Regions from separate parts of the Homo sapiens genome. Here region 1 is linked to region 2. Evidence: promoter capture Hi-C in human tissues and cell types (Jung and others, 2019). All regions are on one chromosome and are shown on one strand. The core of a region is centred on a gene start or on the middle of the fragment in contact, and the rest is flanking DNA. Distances in the headings are between cores, read along the strand shown.

Region 1 (4,936 bases), core at 2,321-4,820, 520 kb before region 2:
GTATTCTTAGGTATACAGTGTGTTATTTCAATACATAGTTTTAAGTATTTTTTTCATTTCAGGAAAGCTTTCTTGAATTATAATTCTTTTTTGTTGCTCGTTTTTATGTGAAATTAGATTTCTTGAGCTTTTAAAAAGAAACATGGTTTTTGGTATTCTGTTTGCTTGTTTAGGGTTTCTTATATTTATGTTGGGTCTTCTTTTGTCTTTCTTCATTGTTTATTAGTTTGTTACAAACCTTACTTTTTCCATTTCTGTTTGGTTTTTCCAACTTTCCTCCTTTTCATGTTCTATTTATCTTAAGGCATTTTCTGTTGTGATTATTTGTTCTTTTATTTCTGATTCTTCATTGAGTTCTAGCACCTCATTTCTTTTTATTTAATTTTTTTTTAGAGGCAGAATCTCGCTCTGTTACCCAGGCTGGAGTGCAGTGGTGCTATCATAGCTCACTGCAATCTTGAGCTCCTGGGCTCAAGTGATCCTCCCACCTCAGCCTCCCAAGTAGCTGGGACTGCAGGTGCATGCCACCATTCCTGACTGACTTTTTTATTTTTAGTAAAGATGAGGTCTTGCTGTGTTACCTGGGCTGATCCTGAAATCCTGGTTGCCCAGGCTGGTCTCAAACTCCTGGCCTCAAGTGATCCTGCTGCCTCAGCTTCTCAAAGTGCTGGGATTACAGGTGTGAGTCACCATACACAGCCTCTAGCACCTCATTTCTGATTTTTGTTATTGAGTATCTTGTACCATTTAACAAATGTCTTTAGTGCATTTTGAAACAGGAAGTTACAGTTTTTATATGTTTGTGGCCATGTCTTTCTGGCTTACTTTCATTGTATGTAGGGATGTTATTCTTTTCTTTCTTCTTCTTTTTATTATAATTTTATTGTATAGGATTGTACCATAATACTTTCTATTGCTCATTTTTATGTGAAATTAGGTTTCTTGAACTTTTAGAAAAAAGCATGGCTTTAATTACCTTTTCTAAATCCATAGTGCTTTCTCTTCTTTTTTTTTTTTTTTTTTTCCTTTTCATTCTGAGTCAAGCTTGAGAAAGTTTTCTCTTCTCTTGTTTTCAGGTAGTGTTCAAAAACATGGCAGCTTGCTTTATGAGGTTTCCTGGCTCTGTTTTACTCCTCCAGTTTTATCTGGACTCTGTTTCCTTTATTTCTGTCGTCCAAGTCTACTCAGTTTTGATTTCACTTCTAGCCGTATTTTCTCAGTGTGGGGCCCTGTCCTGGTAGGGAGCACTGGTTAATTTTGAGAGTTCAGGGGACTAGACAGCTGTGGCCCCTTGAAGTCCTACCCCAGACTTCTTGTCCTTGTCCACTGTTAGACATAGGTTCACTTGCTGTTACCCATTGGCCCACTATAATTTTTAGTGAATGCCTATCAGCTACTTAGGTGTTTTCTTGTTCTTAGGTCTCTCAGCCAACTTGTTGCTTCCCAATACCTTTGCACTTGGTTTTGATAGAAATGTTGCTCATGGGTTTAGTTTTGCTCTCTAGTCAGTCTGTTTTTATGTGAGGATTTGGTAGATTAGACGACGTTGCTTTTGCCACATTAACATATGTTCTTTAAAAAGAAAGATGAAATCATATATATGCAACTTATTTTTGCTTAGTTTTAGTGATCTTGTTTATGTCAGTACAAAGCTCCCTCTTTTTTGTTGAAGACTAATATATTCCATTGAAGGGATATGCTGTATTGTGTAACAAATCCCCTACTGATGGACATTTGTATTGCTTCTCATTGTTTACAATTATTAGAATGCTATAGTGAACACTCTATCCATATATCATTGTGCACTTCTGTGAACATTTCTATTAGATAAATTCCTAGACATAGCATCTGCTGGGTCAAATGGAATGAACAGTTACAGTTTTGATAGATGTTGCCAGATGCCCAAAAGCCTTGCACTAATTTATCCTTACCTACAGTTATTAGGATGCCGGTTGCTGCAAGGCCTTGCCATTATTGGCCCAGAGGCTCTTCAAGGTATGAGTGTTTATGTATGTGTTTTGAGAGTGATTTACAGTTTTCTCTAAGAAACTCATGAGACCTATGGACCTTTTTAGAAAAATGTAAATGTGTACTTAAAACTTTCACATATAATCTCAGAGGCTTCACCAGCTGGTCTCTAGTAATATTGTTCTTATTCTTGTTTTCCTAACCACCAACCACTTCTGCTTGATGAACTAGGAAATACTTGAATGTTTAAGGATAAAGAGCAGTTGTAGAGCTATGACCAATAGTTCATCAAATCCTGTTATCAGAGGTGATAATACTCTGAAGCCCATGATAAAGTCTGATGTGTGTGGTTTAGTAGTAGTTAAGAACTAAACAACACTTCTATCCCATTCTATTTTGATGCTTGCTTGTTTCTGTCTTTGCAATTCTCAGTCTTTGTATCTTTCTCTTATTTTCCTTGTGGGTTGAGGAGTGATGCTGTGGAATTAAAATACATTTAAAAATAAGAAGTTTATTTTCCCCTTATCCCAAGTTAAAGGCTATCTTTGCAACATCCTTCTGCCCCACATTTCAGAAAGAGGAAATTGTTTTTCTTTCCATAATGCTCACTCATCTTTGTTTTAGAACATATACACAATGGACATTCGCTATGTACCAAGCACTCTGTTCAGCAATGCAGGGAATATAAAGATGTTCTGACTTCAAGAATAATACAATCTATTGGGGAAAACTTGGCAAGTATTATAATTTTTATGGATTTGTTTCCCTCACTAGACCAGTGATCTCTTCAAGAGTAGAGAGGCAACATGGCGAAACCCTGTCTGTACAAAAATACAAAAATTATCTGGGTGTGGTGTGCATGCTTGTAGTCCCAGGTACCAGGGAGGCTGAGGTGGGATGATCACTCGAGCCTGGGAGGTCAAGGCTGCAGTGAGCCGTGATCATACCACTGCACCCCAGCGTGGGCAACAGAGTGAGACCCTGTCTCAAAAAAATAATAAATAAAAGTAAAGTAAAAAGAGTAGAGAGGCCATGTCTCACTTTTAATTTTCCTAAAACCTGGCACATAGTAGATGGTCAGTAAATGTCTGTTTAATGATTAACAAGAAGCCAAATGACTAAGAGAAAATGAATAGAGGAAGTGTCATTAGAAAAGAATAAGCAAGGCACTAGAGATTGAAAGGATGGAAAGATAATGTATAAAACTGCATGGAGTTGTTGCTCAAGCTAGCCTATTAAAAAATGGACTGTCACTTGAGCTTGGGAGGTCAAGGCTGCAGTGAGCTGTGACTGCACCACTGTACTCCAGCCTGGGTGGCAGAGCAAGACTCCATCTCAAAAAAAAAAAGCATTGAAATTTGACAGGCAAAAAGCAAGGAAAGAGATGGCATTAAGGACTAAGAAAAGCATAGGGGGAGTTTAGCCAGAGCGTGGGGTAGCTGTGGATGAGGGGCGATAAGGCAGAGAATATCAGCAAGGATTTCATTAGGTTAGGCAGGCCTTGAACACCATGAGATAGTATTATTGGTACTTCGGAGGGCAGCAGGGAGCCACTGAAGGCTTGTAAGAAGGAGAGTGCCAACAAGCCTGTCCTGGGGGATGCTGTACTTAACTGCAGTGGCACAAGGAGGGAACATTTATCTTTTCAGTGGGGGCTGGGTCTCATGATCTCCTGAAGTTCTTTCTAGCTCAGAATGCTGAGGTCCTGAAGTTATGAGGGATTTGCCTTCTCTTTTATAAATCTGAAATGGAAGTTTGAAAGAGGATATCAGAGAGATGACTTGTTGGGAGACGACTTCTGTCAAAAGTGATCCAGACCACAAGTAGTCAGTAGGGCCTGAATCTGCCTATGAATAGGAGGGAGCACCAAGGCCAGAGGTTCCATATACTTCTGCCTGGGTACTTGGAGAAGACTCAGGAGTGTATAGTGGGTAGAGTGTTTCTCATCAAGTGACAGCACAGAGTTCCCATTAGTTGCCCAGGATTGGGTGTATGGGGGTGCAGTTGGGGGCAGCATCAGCTGTTGTGAAGGTGGGGTGGAGGTGTGAGGCAGGCTGCTTGTTGGAAGTGTGCACAGCAGCAGCTTTGCTGGAGCACCAACCTTGTGTGCATTGGCCTAGAACATCCAGGCCTCCTTGCCCATGCTTGGGTGGGCACCTGTCAGCACAGCCCTCTGAGGAGCAGAAACCCAGAGCAGGGTAGCTGCTTTTATAAGCTCTTTGGTGCATTGTTGCAAAACTGGCTTAAGTTTGTGACTGAGCTAAGTTTATCAGGAAACCTGAAGCCCTTCTTCCTTGTTGCCAGCTGGCAGTTGTGCTCCTTTAAATCCTCCCCACATTTGCTTCAGTTTTGCTGCTGGATATGGCCTCTTTGATTTCTATTCTGATGTCTTGGGGAGTGAGACAGAGACTGACCCATCTTAAGTGGGTTTGGTGGCCTGCAGGTTGGCTGAGCCAAGGAAAGCTGTAGTGGGTGTTTTCGATGTGGTACAGGCTAAGTTTAAACAGCTCATTTGCTGCCCTCTCAGTTTGGATGCCCCGCAGCCCTCATTGTTACTGAATTTTTTGCAGCCTTAACAAGACAGCCTGACATGAATATTCTAAAAAATCATGTACTCTTCTTTCCTCTGCAGAACTCAATCAAGTATGTATTGAGAGCCGATTAACACTCAGTTTGAGCATCTATCATGGCATGGCCCTGGTCTTTTTCTCATAGCTGGGAAAACTGAACAAGTCACAGAGAGGCAAGAGCCAGGCAGAGAACATTATTGAGAACTCTCTGGTGTCAGCTCTGAGCATCTCCTATGCATGATCTCTTATTCCTGGCAGTGAACCCTGTGAGCCCTGTGAAGTGGGTACTCTGATGCCCATTCTGCAGATGAGTCATAGGTGTTATTTGCTCAAGGTCTCAGAGCTATTAAGTGGTGGAACTGGACCTGGAACCAGATCTTCCTGAGTCTGTGCCCTCT
Region 2 (4,818 bases), core at 604-3,103:
CCCTACTTACATGTCTCATAAGCAATCTCAAACTTAACAGGCCCAAGATGAAATTCTCAATCATCCCCCAACACCTACTCCTCACCTTTCCCACCTCAGTAAATGTCACCACTTCAGTACTCTGGGAACCATTCTTGGTTTTCCTCAACCAATCCATCATCCAGTCCTATTCACTTTTTTTTTTTCCTCGAGACAAGGTCTCGCTCTGTCACCCAGGCTGGAGTGTAGTGGTGTGATCTCAGCTCACTGCAGCCTCGAATTCCTCGGCTCAAGGGTTTCTCCCACCTCAGCCTCCCAAGCAGCTGGGACTACAGGCGCGGGCCACCACACCAGGCTAATATTTTGTAATTTTGTAGAGACGGAATCTTGCCATGTTGCCCAGGCTGCTCGCAAACTCCTGGGCTCAAGCGATCCTCCCCTTTGGCCTCCCAAAGTGCTGGGATTACAGCCGTGGGCCACTGCACCAGGCCCTTCATTCACTTCTATCTGCACTGTCACCACCCTAATGTAAGCGAAAATCATCTCTCACATGATAATGAAGCAGCCAAAATGGTCTCTGGGCTTCTCCTGTACTCTCTCCAGTCCACACCAGGGCTCTAAACCCTTTAAACTACCCACTGTTCTTGAAAGAAACCAAACTTCTGAATCTGGCTTAAAAGACCCTACATGACCTCTTCCCCTGCTGCTCCCTCAAACCACTCTCCCCGTCCCTGACCTTGTGCCAGCACACTGGCGTTTCTGTAGTTCTCAACTGTATTCTGTTTCCTCCTGACAAACTCTTAATCATCCTTTGGGTCTCATTTCAGAGCTGGGTCCCCGCCATACACTCTCAGAGCACCCTGAAGTACTTAAGCATTTGTGTAATTATTTTATTACAAAAAGTATAAAATCACAAACTTAAAAACCCAATCGACTATAAGCTCCATAAGGGTAAGTACTGTCATCTGTTTGGTTCACCTCTGTATCCCCAGGAAAACAGGGTCCAGCACACGGTCTGGGCTCAATATTTGAACCCAGACGAGGTGAGGGGGGACAAAGTAGCCACCTAAAAATCCTAACTCAAAAAGATAAAGTTCTAACCGTATGTGGATGCCCATTTTGTTTCAACTCTCTCCACCCCCATTCTCAACGGCTCAGGCCAAATCATACATGGGACCAGATACCTCAGGTCTCCAAGCTCAGGCAGCCCCCGCTGTCTTCCACCCCATAAAGTTCTAAGTCCAAAGTGAGCCCGTCCTAGCTCTGGGGCGAGAGAAAACAGGCCTCTTTCGCCCCTGCAGGTGAGGGTCCCGGACCGCCCGGAGGCAGGTTCCTCATCCAGACCTACTGGCCAGGACTCCTCCACACTATTCCGTGCAGCCATGACGCACGCAGACCGCAGCACTTCGTCAGCGAAGAAGCCGCTGAGCGCGAGGCGCTTCTTCGCGGCTTCTCAAGCACCGTTCAAACCGCGCGTCGGGCCCAAGTGCCTAGCTTCGAGTCGCAAAGCCTCAGATGTCCACCCTATTCAAGGAGAATGGACTGAAAAGACGACGACCCCGGTCCTCTCTCTTTAAGAACCACCCCCATTCGAGCCTGACGGGGGCTCTCAGTAAACTCGCGAGAGCCACCGGCTTCCGCCCGCTTCCTCCTCTCGCCTTGCCGGGCCGGAAGAAAGGTGGCACCTCCCACCCCCCAGCCTTACCTCACAAGGCGGCGCGGACCCAGCTGCAGCCAATCGGCGGGCTCATTGTAGGCTGCGGGGCAGAGAGCCAATGAGAAGTCGCGGCGGACGCCCAGCTTCTCCTCACTCGCACCGGCCCCCTCCCTTCCGCCTGCCGCCTTCCACTCCGCCCCTGGCGGAGGAAGTGATGTCACAGGCCCCATGTGAGCGGATTGCAACACATGCAGCTGCCTGGAGAGAGGGAGCCGGTGTCCTACGTCAGAGCCGCCGCCGCCGCGGAGCCGCCGCCGGGGAGGAGCAGCCGCTGCCGCCCAGGACTGGGCCCTTAGGTAAGGCACAGGGAGGGAAAGGCCGGTGACCTTTGTGGCGAGCTGCACCGGACGGGAGGAGAGGGCCTCTGGGGGATGGCGAGGAAGGGGGCCGCTCTGCCCCAGCGGCGGCGCTAACTCTGTGGTCTTGGTGTCTCCGGGCCCCGCCGGGCCGCTCTAGGGAGGAGGAGGCGAGAAGATGGCGGACGACCCCAGTGCTGCCGACAGGAACGTGGAGATCTGGAAGATCAAGAAGCTCATTAAGAGCTTGGAGGCGGCCCGCGGGTGAGCGCCGCGTCCGGCACCCTCCGTGCCCTCTTGGTTCCCGGACCCCTCAGGATGGACGCCCCCGCGCCGCATGGCCGGATGAGGAGAACCAGGCACTAGCCAACTCCCGCCTTCTGGATCTCTGGGTAGTAGCCCCTGACCCAGGGGCGAGGGTCGGCGCGGTTGGCCCGAGAAGGGGTCCTTTCCCCGCATGGGGGTAAGGGGCCCGCGCTCCCCGGTTTAGATCACTCGGCCCCCCTCGTGGTAGGCCACCGCTACTTTTGCACCTCTCCCGGGCCCTTAAGTCCAGGTCCTCCCTCTTCGGGCTCCAGGTGCTGCCACCCGACTCGGGTGCTATTGTGGCAAAGTGTTCGGCCTTCCTTTCCCAGGGCCCTTCCCTGATTTCCTCTTCTCCCTTCATTTCTCAGCCAGGCCTCATTAAAATGGCCTCTCCCTTCTGGGCTTCTGAGACCCGGGTGGGTGAAGTTTGGATGGGACGGGAAGCAGAGGTGGCCAGGGACAGCTTCTTTCTGATTCCTGATTTCTCTGGGTCTTCCACCTGTCCCAAGATGACTTCTCCCAAGTCCTCTAATTACCCCGGAGCTTCCTGGTTTTAGCTGTTCCAGGACCCACCTATAAACTGAAAATGCCAACGTACGCGCGATGTGAGGGGTGCTGGGTAGGTTTTGGTTAATGAATCTGCATGTGTATGTCCAGGAGAAATACGGGTTAGGGGGCCGTTTGATAGGAATCATAACTACAGAGTCCCTGCTGGCATTTCTCTGAAACTTGTGGGGATATCGCTGTAGAGAGGCGCCTGATGTGCTTGATGCTTGTTGAGTGAGATTCATAATTGAATTAAATGGGCTTTGAGTCTTGTACATTTTGATAAGAAACTGTAGGTGTGTCCATTGGGGGGAGAGTAGGCTAGATTAAAATTAGCTGTGTGTGTGTGTTTTCTTTTTTTTTTAACGTTGTTCGTTTGAGGAAGGTGTGCCAGGGGTATTCCTGTTTCTTTTATTACTTTATTTTGTTCCTTTCCCAGTCATAGAAACTTTTTACTTACAGGAAGTGCCCCCCCCCCCAAAAAAAAGTGTTTGGAACATTATTACATACTTGTATGTCTGAGCATTCTTAGAATAGTAGAATGGCCTGCCTCAGGCCATGTGAAAAGTTGATTTCAGCACAAGAATTTGACATTCTGGTTTCCAGCCCAGGATTGTCATTTATGGGTAGATTTGCAATTTTAGAATGACAGCCCCTCCAAGCTCTTCATTATTACTGTTATATGAAACAGGATGTGCTTAATTGTACTGAAGGCCCAATTCACAGGTTGGTTTTACTAGTGTTTTGTTCTTAATAAATTAGGGACAGTTCTGTTTGGAATGAGGCTTCTAAAAGTTTGGCCCCATTCAGTGACGGGCTTGTGCTCACTCCTTCGGTTTACTGGAGAAACGTTAGTTTAATATGAATCGAAGACAGCGGCTTGTTAGTCCTTAGGTTTTTCTTTGAATTCAATAGAATATCCAGACCTTCTTAATGATCTTACAGGAACTTGTGCCGTATGATAGAGTGACCAGTTATTCCCAAAATGTGAGAATACTGTACAGAAAGGGTAACATAGGTCACGACCCATTATGTTGCACTACCAAGAATTAGCCAGGTTCTTTTGTTTCAGTAGGATCTTGTTTTGTTACTTGAAGCCTTCAATCCAGTATTGCATTTTATAGATTGCTGTTGTTGCAGTATTGTATATAGGTGGATGTGACCTCTGGATTTGTTCTTACTGCTTTCAGTAGCAGGCAGGTTTACACATTTTAATTTGCATACGTTATATTCTCTGAAACAGTCCAAAAAATTAAATCATGACTATAATTTGCCTGTTTGAATGAAGTAACATTGAAGATGACATTGCTTAATAAGTAACAGCATTCCTTTCTACTGCTTAATGAAGGAAACTCATTCTTAAATTTGTTCTACCCATGTTACCTAGCCACTAGAAACTTTTAAGCGCCTCTTTAAGGCTTTTGAAGGCTTTACCTCTTTGTTTAGCAAAGTTCAGTAAAGTTTAAAGCATGCTAAAAATGAAGTTATAAGACACAACTTGTATTTCAAGTTGTTGAGTTTGGATATTTCAGACATGATTAAGCTGTCTAAAATAGCTGGAGGACCTTCCGCTACACATTGTGGTTAATAATCATGTCCTACTTTGCTTTTAATCAGGATTTGGTTGCATCTTGATCCCATGGAAATTTAAAATCTTGGCCATCTCTGAGTATTGGTAAGGGAGTCAGAAGATTCCCCAGTATATACCAGTTTTTGGAGGTGGGAATATTTTCATTGCCAACTTGTGTTAAAGTCAGACTCTAGATTTTCATAGATAGGGTACAGTGGAAAATGTTATTCCTACTTTACCTAGTGATAAAATATCTTTAGAAGAATTGTAATGGGCTTTAAAGACTTAAGTGGATGGCAAAATGAATCTGTATTTGCTGATGTTTTGGGGATACTCTGGTTTTCAGGAGGAAACTGAGGTTTTCAGGCATGGTTATTAGGACAAGGTAGTGAGACTTAGTGGTT

The links. Contacts are between HindIII fragments. The study calls those that stand out against the background at their distance.
Region 1: a fragment that was not itself captured here is called in contact with the fragment with the promoter of ETF1 in region 2 in 1 of the 25 tissues and cell types used here (mesendoderm cells).

What each region holds. Positions count from the first base shown.
Region 1 is chr5:139,064,744-139,069,679 of GRCh38, reverse strand. The region is part of intron 3 of SIL1 (SIL1 nucleotide exchange factor); the gene reads left to right. Among named protein-coding and RNA genes, the nearest start is that of SIL1, 130 kb to the left of the region's middle. The HindIII fragment of the contact is 6,028 bases long and covers 557-4,936 here.
Region 2 is chr5:138,540,271-138,545,088 of GRCh38, reverse strand. It overlaps ETF1 (eukaryotic translation termination factor 1), which reads left to right and starts at 1,853. Exons shown (of 11, transcript NM_004730.4): 1 at 1,853-1,992; 2 at 2,153-2,256. The coding sequence starts at 2,171. RefSeq lists enhancers at 622-1,411, 1,293-1,692, 1,412-2,201, 1,143-2,342 and a silencer at 1,983-2,032. The HindIII fragment of the contact is 28,551 bases long and covers 1-4,818 here.